2 separate regions of the Homo sapiens genome follow, and region 1 is linked to region 2. The links are contacts of gene promoters, found by promoter capture Hi-C in human tissues and cell types (Jung and others, 2019). All regions are on one chromosome and are shown on one strand. Each heading gives the region's core, a stretch centred on a gene start or on the middle of the fragment in contact. The rest is flanking DNA. Distances are from core to core; before and after follow the strand shown. Region 1 overlaps HDAC7 (histone deacetylase 7). Region 2 holds the start of ENDOU (endonuclease, poly(U) specific).

Evidence for each region. Contacts are between HindIII fragments. The study calls those that stand out against the background at their distance.
Region 1: a fragment that was not itself captured here is called in contact with the fragment with the promoter of ENDOU in region 2 in 2 of the 25 tissues and cell types used here (IMR-90 fibroblasts and aorta).

What each region holds. Positions count from the first base shown.
Region 1 is chr12:47,806,485-47,811,721 of GRCh38, reverse strand. The region is part of intron 1 of HDAC7 (histone deacetylase 7); the gene reads left to right. Among named protein-coding and RNA genes, the nearest start is that of HDAC7, 11 kb to the left of the region's middle. RefSeq lists an enhancer at 2,721-2,790. The HindIII fragment of the contact is 4,015 bases long and covers 1-3,770 here.
Region 2 is chr12:47,722,527-47,728,372 of GRCh38, reverse strand. It overlaps ENDOU (endonuclease, poly(U) specific), which reads left to right and starts at 2,883. Exons shown (of 10, transcript NM_001172439.2): 1 at 2,883-3,014. The coding sequence starts at 2,960. The region is part of intron 3 of RPAP3-DT (RPAP3 divergent transcript); the gene reads right to left. RefSeq lists silencers at 1,224-1,283, 2,249-2,368. The HindIII fragment of the contact is 12,082 bases long and covers 1-5,685 here.

The sequences.
Region 1 (5,237 bases), core at 514-3,013, 84 kb before region 2:
CGAGGTCACACTTTGACTTTGCTACCATGGGCTGTGTCTATGTACGTATATATGCTGCGTAATTATTACAGAGGCAGTCCATGTGCATTGTGGATACTCAGACAGGACAGACCAGCAAAAACTAAAAAATAAAAAACATCACAGACGCATCAGTCAGAGATCACTGCACATCTTTCCATTTCCGTATGTGTCTTTATGTGTTGTAATTTTTATGAAAATGAGATTACTCTGCATATACTGTTTTTTCAGTCAGTGATTTCCACCTTCCATTACAGTAAATTTTCATCTTAACGGAATTCCCAGTTGGCCAGAAATTGTCCTTACAGCTGGTTTGTCCAAATCAGTACCCAGGACCATGCCATCTGTCTGTTGAGTGACCTGAAGGCAGTGTAAGCACCCTAGCTGGATTTGTGATCTGGAAAAACCCCTTCAACCAAGTCTCAAGGGCAGCCTGGCTGCAAAAGGGAATCAGGTCACGTGGAGAATCTGCCCACTAGACTTCTGCTGTCTTCCAAAGTAATAGGCAAAAGGAGGGGGATTCTAGGGCACCACTGGGATGGGACCTCTAGGGTATTTACTGTCATTAATGTTAATGTGGCATCCCTGTGAGTGTCAGGATTCACAGCTTGTGGCTATTCACATCCGAGATGCCTCAGTTCGGTTTGCCTGGTTCTTACTGAGTGCAGACCAGGGTCTCCATTGTGGCTTCTGCCTTCCTCTGCCCCAGATCCAGGGATGCTGATAGCCGTGCGGCTGTGTTCCTAGTCCCCAGAAAGTGGCCCTGAAGGTAGGTGCTCCCTTTTGCACTTGTGGGTGCTTCCAGCGCTTCCACCTGCCCAAGGCCTGCCCGTGAGTGAGAGACAGAGATAGAGATAGAGAGAGAGAGAGAGAGAGAGAGAGAGAGAGAGAGAGAGAGACCTTTTCCTCCCAAGAGAATTTACCCCCGAGTACCCACTCTGAGGGTGACTTGCTCTGGTTATGCAACCCGCATTTTGTAGAGGGCTTGACAGTTTCCAGAGAGCTCACGCAGCGTTTGATCCTCTGTGGCAGCCCTGGGAGGTTTGCTTGTTTAGTTATACCCTGCTGGAGGCAGCTAACAGGAAACACTGTAAAGTGTTTAAATGGTACACTTTAAAATGGTAAAATGTACATTTAAAAAGGAAGGGAAATAGAAGATGAAAAAGGAATTGAGGATGGCAGGGGTGGAACACAGCACACTTTGTGGGAACAGGCTGGCATTGGGAGCATACCCTAGGGCCTCACTGTGTCTTGCATCCCCTTGTCCCCTTGGTGGTCTCACCTCAGCCACTACTAGGAGGCAGGCTGAGTAAGCAGTCCACGCCAGTGTACCGATGCTAAGCTTAGGTTCTGGAGTCCCAGCAGCTCCACATACCATCTGTGTGACCTCAGCAAGTTTCTGAACCTCTCTTAGCCTTAGTTTCCTCATTTGCAAAATGAGAATAATAACAGTATATAGGCCGGGCGCAGTGGTTCACGCCTGTAATCCCAGCACTTTGGGAGGCCAGGGTGGGTGGATTCAGTGAGTTCAGGAGTTTGAGACCAGCCTGGCCAACATAGTGAAACACCGTCTCTACCAAAATACAAAAATTAGCTGGGCATGGTGGCTTGCACCTGTAATCCCAGCTACTTGGGAGGCTGAGGCAGGAGAATCACTTGAATCCGGGAGGCAGAGGTTGCAGTCAGCTGAGATTGTGCCACTGCACTCCAGTCTGGGTGACAGAGTGAAATTCTGTCTCAAAAACAAAACAAAACAAACAAACAAAAAAACAGTATCTGCCTTACAGAGTTGTGAGGACTACTTGCAATAGTACAATTAAAATGTTTAGTGGGGGCCTGGTGTGGTGGCTCAGGCCTGTAATCCCAGTACTTTGGGAGGCAGAGGTGGGCGGATCACTTGAGGCTGGGAGTTCGAGACCAGACTAATCAACAGGGTGAAACCCCGTCTCTACTAAATATACAAAAATTAGCCAGGCATGTTGGCGCACGCCTGTAATCCCAGCTACTTAGGAGGCTGAGGCAGGAGAATCACTTGAACCCGGGAGGCAGAGGTTGAAGTGAGCCAAGATCGTGCCACTGTACTCCAGCCTGGGTGACAGAGTGGGACTCCATCTCAAAATAAATAAATAAATAAAAATCGCTTAGTGGGAGGATGTTGCCCTCCCCCCGCCAAAAATGCCTAGGATAATAGCCAGCACACAGTAAGCATTAACACATGATTGTTGATCATTATTAATATTATTAATTAATTAAAATAATATAACTATTGTTGATATTGTAACTTAAACATTTCCCTGGCAGTCTTGGGAATGGGCTGCGTGGCCTTGTGGGTGGCACAGGTGAGAAGAGTGAGGAAGGCACATCTCGCTCGGCCTGCAGCTGGGAGAGGCAGAACCAGTGGGCAAAGCAGGAGTAGGGTACACAGAGGGGCAGGGTCTGCATGAGGAGGGCCCAGGAGCTGGGGTGACAAGGAGAGCAAGGGAATGAGTGTGACACCTCAGAGGGGAGAAGGAGCCGCCCCTAGAGGCAGCCTGGGGCGGTGACTGTGCTTCCTGTTGGGGCAAACACTGGCCCTTGAGAAAGACTGGCTCACACTGGCTGCTAAAGGAGCAACTGGTCTAAGTGGGGCACCAGAGGGGTAAAGGCGAAGGGGAGAGATGAAGGCAGAAACTGGCCGACTTATCCCCATGTTACAGATAGGGCCTCAAATCTTGCCTGCTCAGGATGTTTTGCTTATGATAGGAAAGATGGTAGTTAGACATCATGGTGAACTTCCTATCTCAGGGACTGGAGATACTGGAGCAGAGGAGTGAGGATGAATGTGGAACTTATGTCTTTGAGGGCTTTTTGGAACTGAGAAATCTTAGGGTAGTGTGGACTAGGGGAGCCCACTGGCTCAGGAATTCCCTAAGTGGGCAGAGCAGTGCAGGGGCAGGCCAGGCTATAAGCTGAAGGCCATGGGTAATAGGAAGTAGATGCAGGCCCTCCAGGCCTGCCACCGCAGGAAGTAGCTATGCCCTCCCCTTCACAATGGACTTGCAGGGAAGGCTGAGTGGTGGCCCGAGAGGTCCCGGGAGTTGGACAGGGCTGGGAGGACCCCTGTTTTTCTCTGTCAGAGGACAGCAAGGGTCTCCAGAGAGTGCCAGACCCAGAAACCGACAGCCATACGCAACTCAGAATGGCCCAGCTCCCCGGCCTCAGGTTCTGCCAGGTCTTCATCCTTGAGGAGAGGCCACAGGGTGGAGCTGGGGATCTGGGGTGGGGGACAAAGAACCAGGGAGGATGCTTTCCCACCCCCAGGGAGCTCAAGCCGCTGCTGCCATGGTTACATCTGCTTCCTGTTTGATTCATCTCAAACAGCAGAAGTGGAGGTGGGGTGGGGGGGCGACACTGGCTCCCAGCTCAGGCCACTGCTGCGTGGGGCTGTTTACAACAGCCGCATGTGGGATTCCCAGAAAGAGACTCCAAACCGGACATCCTGCGGCTGCAAAATACCCAGGTGTCAAGAGCTAAAAATAGCTGCCTCAGGGCCCCAGCTGCCCTGAGGTGGCGGAGAAAGAGGCATGCTCACTGTTGCCACCCTTACATCCAGCCTCCTGTTTGGTGTGCAGGAGCTTCTCTGTCCTCTTGCCTCGGACTGATGGAGGCCTTCGTCTGGGTAGGCAGACATCCCGGCTGGCTCACCTGGCAGCTGAGCCTCTGCCCTGATGGGCAGCTGGCTCCTCTGCCTATACAGAGAAATGGTGCAGCTTGCTTTGGGACGCTAATGAGAGAGTCCTAGAGGGACTTGGGAGCTTCTAGAGAAGGGATATGGCAGGGCACTGAGAGCAGGGGAGTTGGAGCTGAGGGTCCTCTAAGACCCCAACCCATTGCCAGCCCCCTGTTTCCAGCACACAGTCCCAAATCATTGCTTGGTTTCTACAAAGTCAACAGTTGCTCCAAATGATTCTTTGAGATTGTCTTCATGGGCACCCAAAGATGACATAGCTTCTGCCCTCTCACCTGCGCAGGGCTGGGGATTGCTGCTGGCACGGGTCTCTGTGGGGCTGTGTGATTTTTTTTTTCCATCTTTCTGCATGCCCATCTAGGTCCTGCATGTGTCCTTTGCTGGCTGGCCTGTGGCGAATGGGAATGCTGGGGAGGAGGGGTGGAGTGTATTGGTTGAGAGCGTGGATTCTGAAGCCCAATTGCCTGGGCTCAAGTCCCAGCTCAACCTCTGCCACTTGTCTGTGACCTCAGACAAGTTATCTAATACTGCTGGGCCTCAGCGTACTCATTTATCTAATGGGGATAAAACAGTAAATACCTCATAGGTTTGTCATGTGGACTAGATAAGTTAGCAAATGTAGGGTACTTAGAACAACTCCTGGCACATAATAAGGTGTTCGCTTACAAAAGTTCAGGTGGAAGAGAAAGGGAAGAGAGCATAGTTGGGAGAGGCTGGGGATAAGAGATAGGGCAGGGGGCTGGGCACGGTGGCTCACGCCTGTAATCCTAACACTTTGGGAAGCCGAGGCAGGCAAATCACCTGAGGACAGGGGTTCGAGACCAGCCTGGCCAACATGGCAAAACACCGTCTCTACTAAAAATACAAAAATTAGCTGGGCTTGGTGGCTTATGCCTGTAGTCCCAGCTACTTGGGAGGCTGAGGGAGGAGAATCACTTGAATCCAGGAGGCAGAGTTTGCAGTTAGCTGAGATTGTGCCACTGCACTCCAGCCTGGGTGACAGAGCGAGACTCCATCTCAAAAAAAAAAAAGAGAGAGAGAGAGAGATGGGGCAGGGGCATGCATTCAGGAGAAAATGGTCTGTGGTAGAGGAGGGAGGAGAGTTGGGAGCAGACACTGAAACGCTAATGCCAGGAAGGAGGCTGCAGACAAGTACAGGAGGCAAACTAATACTCGCTACCACAAGGGAGCACCCACCATGTGCTGGGTGCATCACAGACAGCATTGCTAATCTCAGGTGACCTCTTTGAAGTAGGTATTCTTTTTGTTTGTTTTTGTTTTTGTTTTTGAGACGGAGTCTTGCTCTGTCGCCCAGGCTGGAGTGCAGTGGTGCAATCTCAGCTCACTGCAGCCTCCGCCTCCTGGGTTCAAGCGATTCTTGTGCCTCAGCCTCCCAAGTAGCTGGACTACATGCTCCCCGCCACCATGCCTGACTAATTTTTGTATTTTTGTTAGAGATGGGATTTCACCATGTCGGCCAAGCTGGTCTCGA
Region 2 (5,846 bases), core at 1,634-4,133:
CACAACAGGCTAGCAGGGAAGAGAAAGCTGCCTGAAATCTATCTTAATGTATCTCTCTCTCTCTCTCTCTCTCTCTCTCTCTCTTTTTGTGTGTGTGTGTGTGTGTGTGTGTGTGTGTGTATACACACATACATGGACATCTAAGTTTATGAGGCATCTTTGCATGAATATGTATTGATATATTTTCATTTATTGGCTTAATGGATTTTTTCTGCCTTTGTCAGCATGTCTTCGGTTATAAAATCTGGGGTTTGGGAATCCGATCTGCGAAGAGGGCGTATGAGCAGCCGTGGGAGGGCATATCCCAATTCCCCACCCCTCAACCCTCAGCACCAGAGGCAATGAAGGAGAGGCAGGACAAGCACTTAGGGTTGTTTAGGGAGTTGTGACATCCTATGAGAAGTGGAACTAGATGGCAGTTGAGGTCCCTTTAATTCCAGTGAATTTAAATCTAGACTGCTTTGTATAGTAACCAGACATGATTAAGTGGTCGTTCAAAGTGTGATGTTGTGGGGCAATGGAGCAACGGTGCTTATGAGAATGACCCCTGGTCAGATGGATCTGGGTTGAGGCACAGCTGCATAACTTAATGATTGTGTGCTTCTGGGCACGTCTCCTAACCTTTCTGTGCCTCAGTTTCTTCATCTGTAAAATGAGGACAGCAATAGTACCTATTAAGGTTGTAGTGAGAATCAATGAGATAACACATATGATAACACACGTGGTAAGTGCTCAGTCAATGTTGCTGGTGGTTGTTAAGGCTGTTATTCTTATTGAAGGATGCAGTTTTAAACACTTGGGTACTCAGATGAACCATCTGGCTCTATGGAGTCATCCTTAACTGTCTTCCCCAGCTCCAATCCTTGCTCCTGACCTAAAATTCCATTAATGGGGGGAGAGCTCCTGCCCTCAAAACACCATCCCATGGCCAGTTCAGCTGGACACTAGGAGAACCTAGCCAGGCTGTACTCCACTCTGACAGCTTTGGCTTCAGCTAGGGTCCACCCAGCTGGACACTTGGAAGGGACAGACCATTCATTCCCAAATTCTGAGGCATCATTGCTTCCCAGGCCAGCCAGTGACACCCTCCTTTGTCCCCTAAACAACAGGAGTCAGAGACACGTTTATGTGGTGCCAACCCAGGGAGGATGAGGATTCTGAGGGGCAGTGACTCTTCAGCCTGCTTTTGGATTGTGTAAATGAAATCTATGCAAATGAAGCAGCCATTTCTGCTCTTACTCATTCTAACCAGCTCCCTTCTGGGAGAGAAGGGCTAGGCTCACTCTTTAGTTGTGCTTCCGGGCTGGATGCAGTGGCTCACACCTGTAATCCCAGCACTTTGGGAGGCCAAGGTGGGCAGATCACCTGAGGTCAAGAGTTTGAGATCAGGTTGGCCAACATGGTCTCTACTAAAAATACAAAAATTAGCCAGGTGTGGTGGTGCATGCCTATAATCCCAGCTACTCGGGAGGCTGAGGCATGAGAATTGCTTGAGCTGGGGAGATGGAGGTTGCAGTGAGCCGAGATCACACTGCTGCACTCCAGCCTGGGCGACAGAGAGAGAGATTCCATCTCAAAATATATACATACATTGCACTTCCTGTGTGAGCCCCTTGCAAAGTTTGCTTGCCCTAGGCTTGTCCTTCTCTCTACCCCTGAGTCCCTATGTTTGGACTCCTCTCTACACAGCAACAGGCTGGGGGATTCTCTTTAACCCACCAGCAACTGTTCAACCTGGCGCATGGGCAGGAAAACTCGAGATTAAAGTCTGAGAACCTGGAAGGGATTGTCAGATCCAACCCCATCATTTCAGATGAGAAAGCTGAAGACCAGCGAGAGGAAGAAACTTCTCCTGTTAAAGCACACTGGATGAAGACGTGCTCCACTCCCAACCTCCAGAAAAAAATCACTGATAGAGTGGCCTCCACTGTTCACCAATTTTGCCTTTTTATATGATAGTTTTCTTTCCTGAGAGGGTTGAGAATCCCCATGCAGTGCTCTTTCTGGCAAGGGCATCATACTTGGCAGATTTTACCTTTATTATCGGGGAAAACTGGACAGTCACGGGGAGCTGCTCCCCTTCTTTTGGACTTGGAAACAAAAGAACCTCACTGGGGAGGAGTTCCTGAGGAGAGGAGTGTAAGTTGGGGTGAAGGGAGTGAAACCCTGGGCTCCCAGGGGAAGAAGAGTGGGCCTTCGGCTGCCTTTAAGAGGCCTCTTGCCCCTCCCCTGCCTCATAAGGAATCTGAAACGTTTAAACCCCAGAGGCTGACTCAGTAAGAGTCATTTGCATAATATTTTAGAGTGATTTAGCCATGCGCTCGACATGTGGCTGATTTAGCTATGCTGGGCTTGGTGGTCATAAGAATAGCACTGGTTCTGACCGACACATCCTCTATCTCTCTGTCCAATGACCCCAACCCTTGCTTGGGCACTTACTGTTTGTCAAATTTGGACCAATCACCTTACTGTGTGCCAGTGTCATGCTAAGCTCCAGGAATTTGAAGATGAATCCAACCTGTGGCCCCTTGGAAAGTCAGGTCTGAGACTTGGAAGTAGGTGTCTGTTTGGTGGGGATCACCCAAAGATCAGCCCATGGGTGTCCCTAATTTGGACAAAGAACCCTCCAAACTGGACCCATCTTGGTGTGCCTGCCTGCATGACCTATTTTTTAAGCTGCAAACAGCTAGCATTACCTGTTCTCAACATCTGGCATTACCTACCTTCTTAGTCACCTTCCCTCAGGCTTCAAACAGCTGTAGGGCCCCACCTCCTATCCATCTAGGGTCCCTCCCTCCCCTTTTTCTTCCTGAAAGGATCTGGAGACACCAGCTCCACAAGTCCTGGTGTCTTTAAAAGGATCAGCTTGAGGAATAAGGCTCGTCTGAGAGCTGTGACATTCATCTGACTCTAGTGAAAGTCCAACAGCCACTCCCTTTTTGGCCTCCAACTGGGCACCATGAGGGCCTGCATCTCCCTGGTATTGGCCGTGCTGTGTGGCCTGGCCTGGGCTGGTAAGTCACTATCTGGCGGGCATGGGATTGCTGGTGGGGCGGGATCTTGCCTAAAGAAGCAGAGAGTTGGAGAACTTGGTAGAGGGCAGGGCCGTGGGACAAGGGAGGGTGAGCTCTGTCCTAAAGCCGCAGAGCACTTTTGGGTTGTCCTTGTCTGAGGGTGCAGGCGTTGGTCCCGGAATGGACTGGACTATGTGGAGAGAGTTGCAGGGCTGATGGTCTGATTTCATGGAATTCCCTTCTTGACACCTTGGAGGATCAGCCCCAAATATCCCTTAGTCCAGCCTGACTTTTGATCTCCCCAAGATTTTGTTGTCTGGGGCCACTGTAAGGAATAAAGCTAGGGCTGGTGTCCATGGGGTCTGAGTGGCCTGGCTGCCCTTGGTCACTCCTTCCACTGCCTGGTGACAGGTGAGGTTGTTTAGGGTGTGATGTTACTTTGGGTAGAGCCTTAGGAGGTGGGCAGGCTTAGGAGGAAACTGAAAGGACCTTTGACCAGGAGGTGGGCCTCGTCCTATCTGGGGCTGTACAGGGGTCAGAGGAATGGATCTCTGTTGCAGTGTTAGGAGAATTGAAGAATACAGAAGGGACCTGGCCCACAGTTATGAGAGGTCCAGGGGATGGGACTGGCAGAGGAACAGGACCATGTTCCTGTTTAGTAACTGTGCAAAATGCTGGTGCTGATGGGTTAATTGGTAGCTAGTGGGTGGGTGGGAAGGAGTGCCAAGGGAGGGGCTGAGCTGAGGAGTGTGGGGAGAATCCTCCTCTGCCCACAGGAGAAAGAATCCTTCCACTGGGTTGCTCCTGTGTAGGACTGTGGAAAGGATTAAATGAAATAATGTATGAGAAGCACCTGGTGCAAAGTGAGATCTCAGTGAACTGGAAATTCGCTATGATTATGACTATAAATTTTCTTGGGAGAAACTTCCGCTTGGGGTCATTTCCAACTGGGTTGTGGAAAGGAGACCCTTATGGGATTTCTAAGTGGAAAACCCCTGGAAGAGGAAGTTGTGCCTCCCAACCATGGATGAGATAGTGCATCTTACCAGAAACCAGCTCTGCCTGGGCCCTAGTGGGTGGAGAGGCAGTGGGAGAGCATGAGGGTGGGCCTGGGAGCCACCAGCCTCAGCCCTGTTGGTTGGGAGGAAGGTGGAACTTGGGGGCTTAATGTGTAGGGGTGGCCAGCGGGCTTGGCATATTCCAGCCTTAGGGAAGGAGAGCAACTCTGGATATTTGGTCCCTGGGGGGCAGAGGTAGCAGTGGCTTTAGAAGTGCAGGTGGAGCTCTTGCTGCTAGGTCGGAGGGCAGTATCTGCTTTGGCTGTGGGATCGATGGGGAAGTGAGGTCAAGTGTATGAGGCTTCCTAAGGTGGCAGGGAAGAGGCTCTGCACTTGTTGATACTATCCCAACATCTCAGAACTGAGAGGCAAGAATATGAATCACATGGGGAATCACTGACAGCCTCAGGTCCTCCTTTATGAGCTGGATGTCTGTGGAGAACCTTGGTTGATTTTTTTGGTTGTGAATGGAGGCAGGAAGCTAGTCCAAGGGGTGAGGCTTCTTGGTTGACTAGGTCTCCATGGAAACAGCATCTGGGGCCTTCTAACGGTACAGATGTGTAGGATGTCCCAGTCATCAGAGGGGCTGAGCACCAGTGTACAGGGACACTGTGTCCACCCAGGCTTGGGACCAAGCTTCCTTGATGGCCAGTATGGATAGGGAGTGGCTGTTCTGGCATATTGAAGTCTTAGAAAGTGCAGAGAAATTGAGCATTTCTTGGGGGAATGGAGGGAGAATCTGAACCCGAGAGAGGAAAGGCTCAGATGAAGAAAGGCAGAGAGTCAGAGAGGTGAGGCAGAGGAACAAGAGGCACAGGTTACTACAGCAGTGATTCAGGCACCTGGCTTGGGGAGCAAGGCTTACTCAGAGTGTTGGTGTTAATGGTGCAGTGTGGGGATGCTGGAGTGAGTTGTTAGGGTGACTAGTTACTCATCAGAGTGTCCCCAGAATGTCACAGCAAAGTGCCTATGAGGAAAAGTTCCTCCCACCCCTGCACTCCACTGTCAAATCCCAAGGTCACCTTGAAGCAGACTAAGTGCACAGAGAAATGTGAGAAAGTGCTGGCATGGGGCTCTTGCTGGAGACAAAGTTCTTGAGCAGAGATGAAAAAGCCCACTCAGCTTGGGCCGGCGGGGGTGCTCTCCTGCACGTCCAGCTGACTGCTCGCTTGCAACCCTTCTCAACTGGTGCCAGCTGCTGGAATGAAGTGAATTCTTTCCCTGGACTCTGCTGATTTGGCCCATTAAAAACATTGCCCTGATTTGCCTGAATTCTCTCCCTTTGGATTCTGGGTGTACTGCCAGGCTGACTGAGCAGGGAGCTGATGGGCTGAAAATTTCTCCTTAAGGTCTTTGCATTCAGGCTCCAAGGGAGCATCATTTAACATTCAAGAGGAGTTCCTGCCGGCTTGAAGGAACAAGTGGCCTTGGGCCTGGTCTCTTTTAGGGACTGGAAACCTGCCTTCCTGCCCACCTTGGAGGCCTGACAATGTGAAGTTGTCTGAGGACCCGGGTTAACCTTGACCCAATGCCTCTCTGATGTAAAGAATACAGACCTGTAGTGATGAAGTCAGCCAGGAAACCAGCAACACAGATGTGCTGACAACCCAGCCCAAGGGATGGCCCTGTTGAAACCCTGGGAGAGTGTCAGCTAGATTAAGTGTGTCGACGGGGCCACAACACAGGGAAGACTGCTCCAGCCAGTCTGAACACTTGTCACTTGGAAGATGGGCATGAAATATTGCCACCGTTTATTCACCTAACAAATACTTCT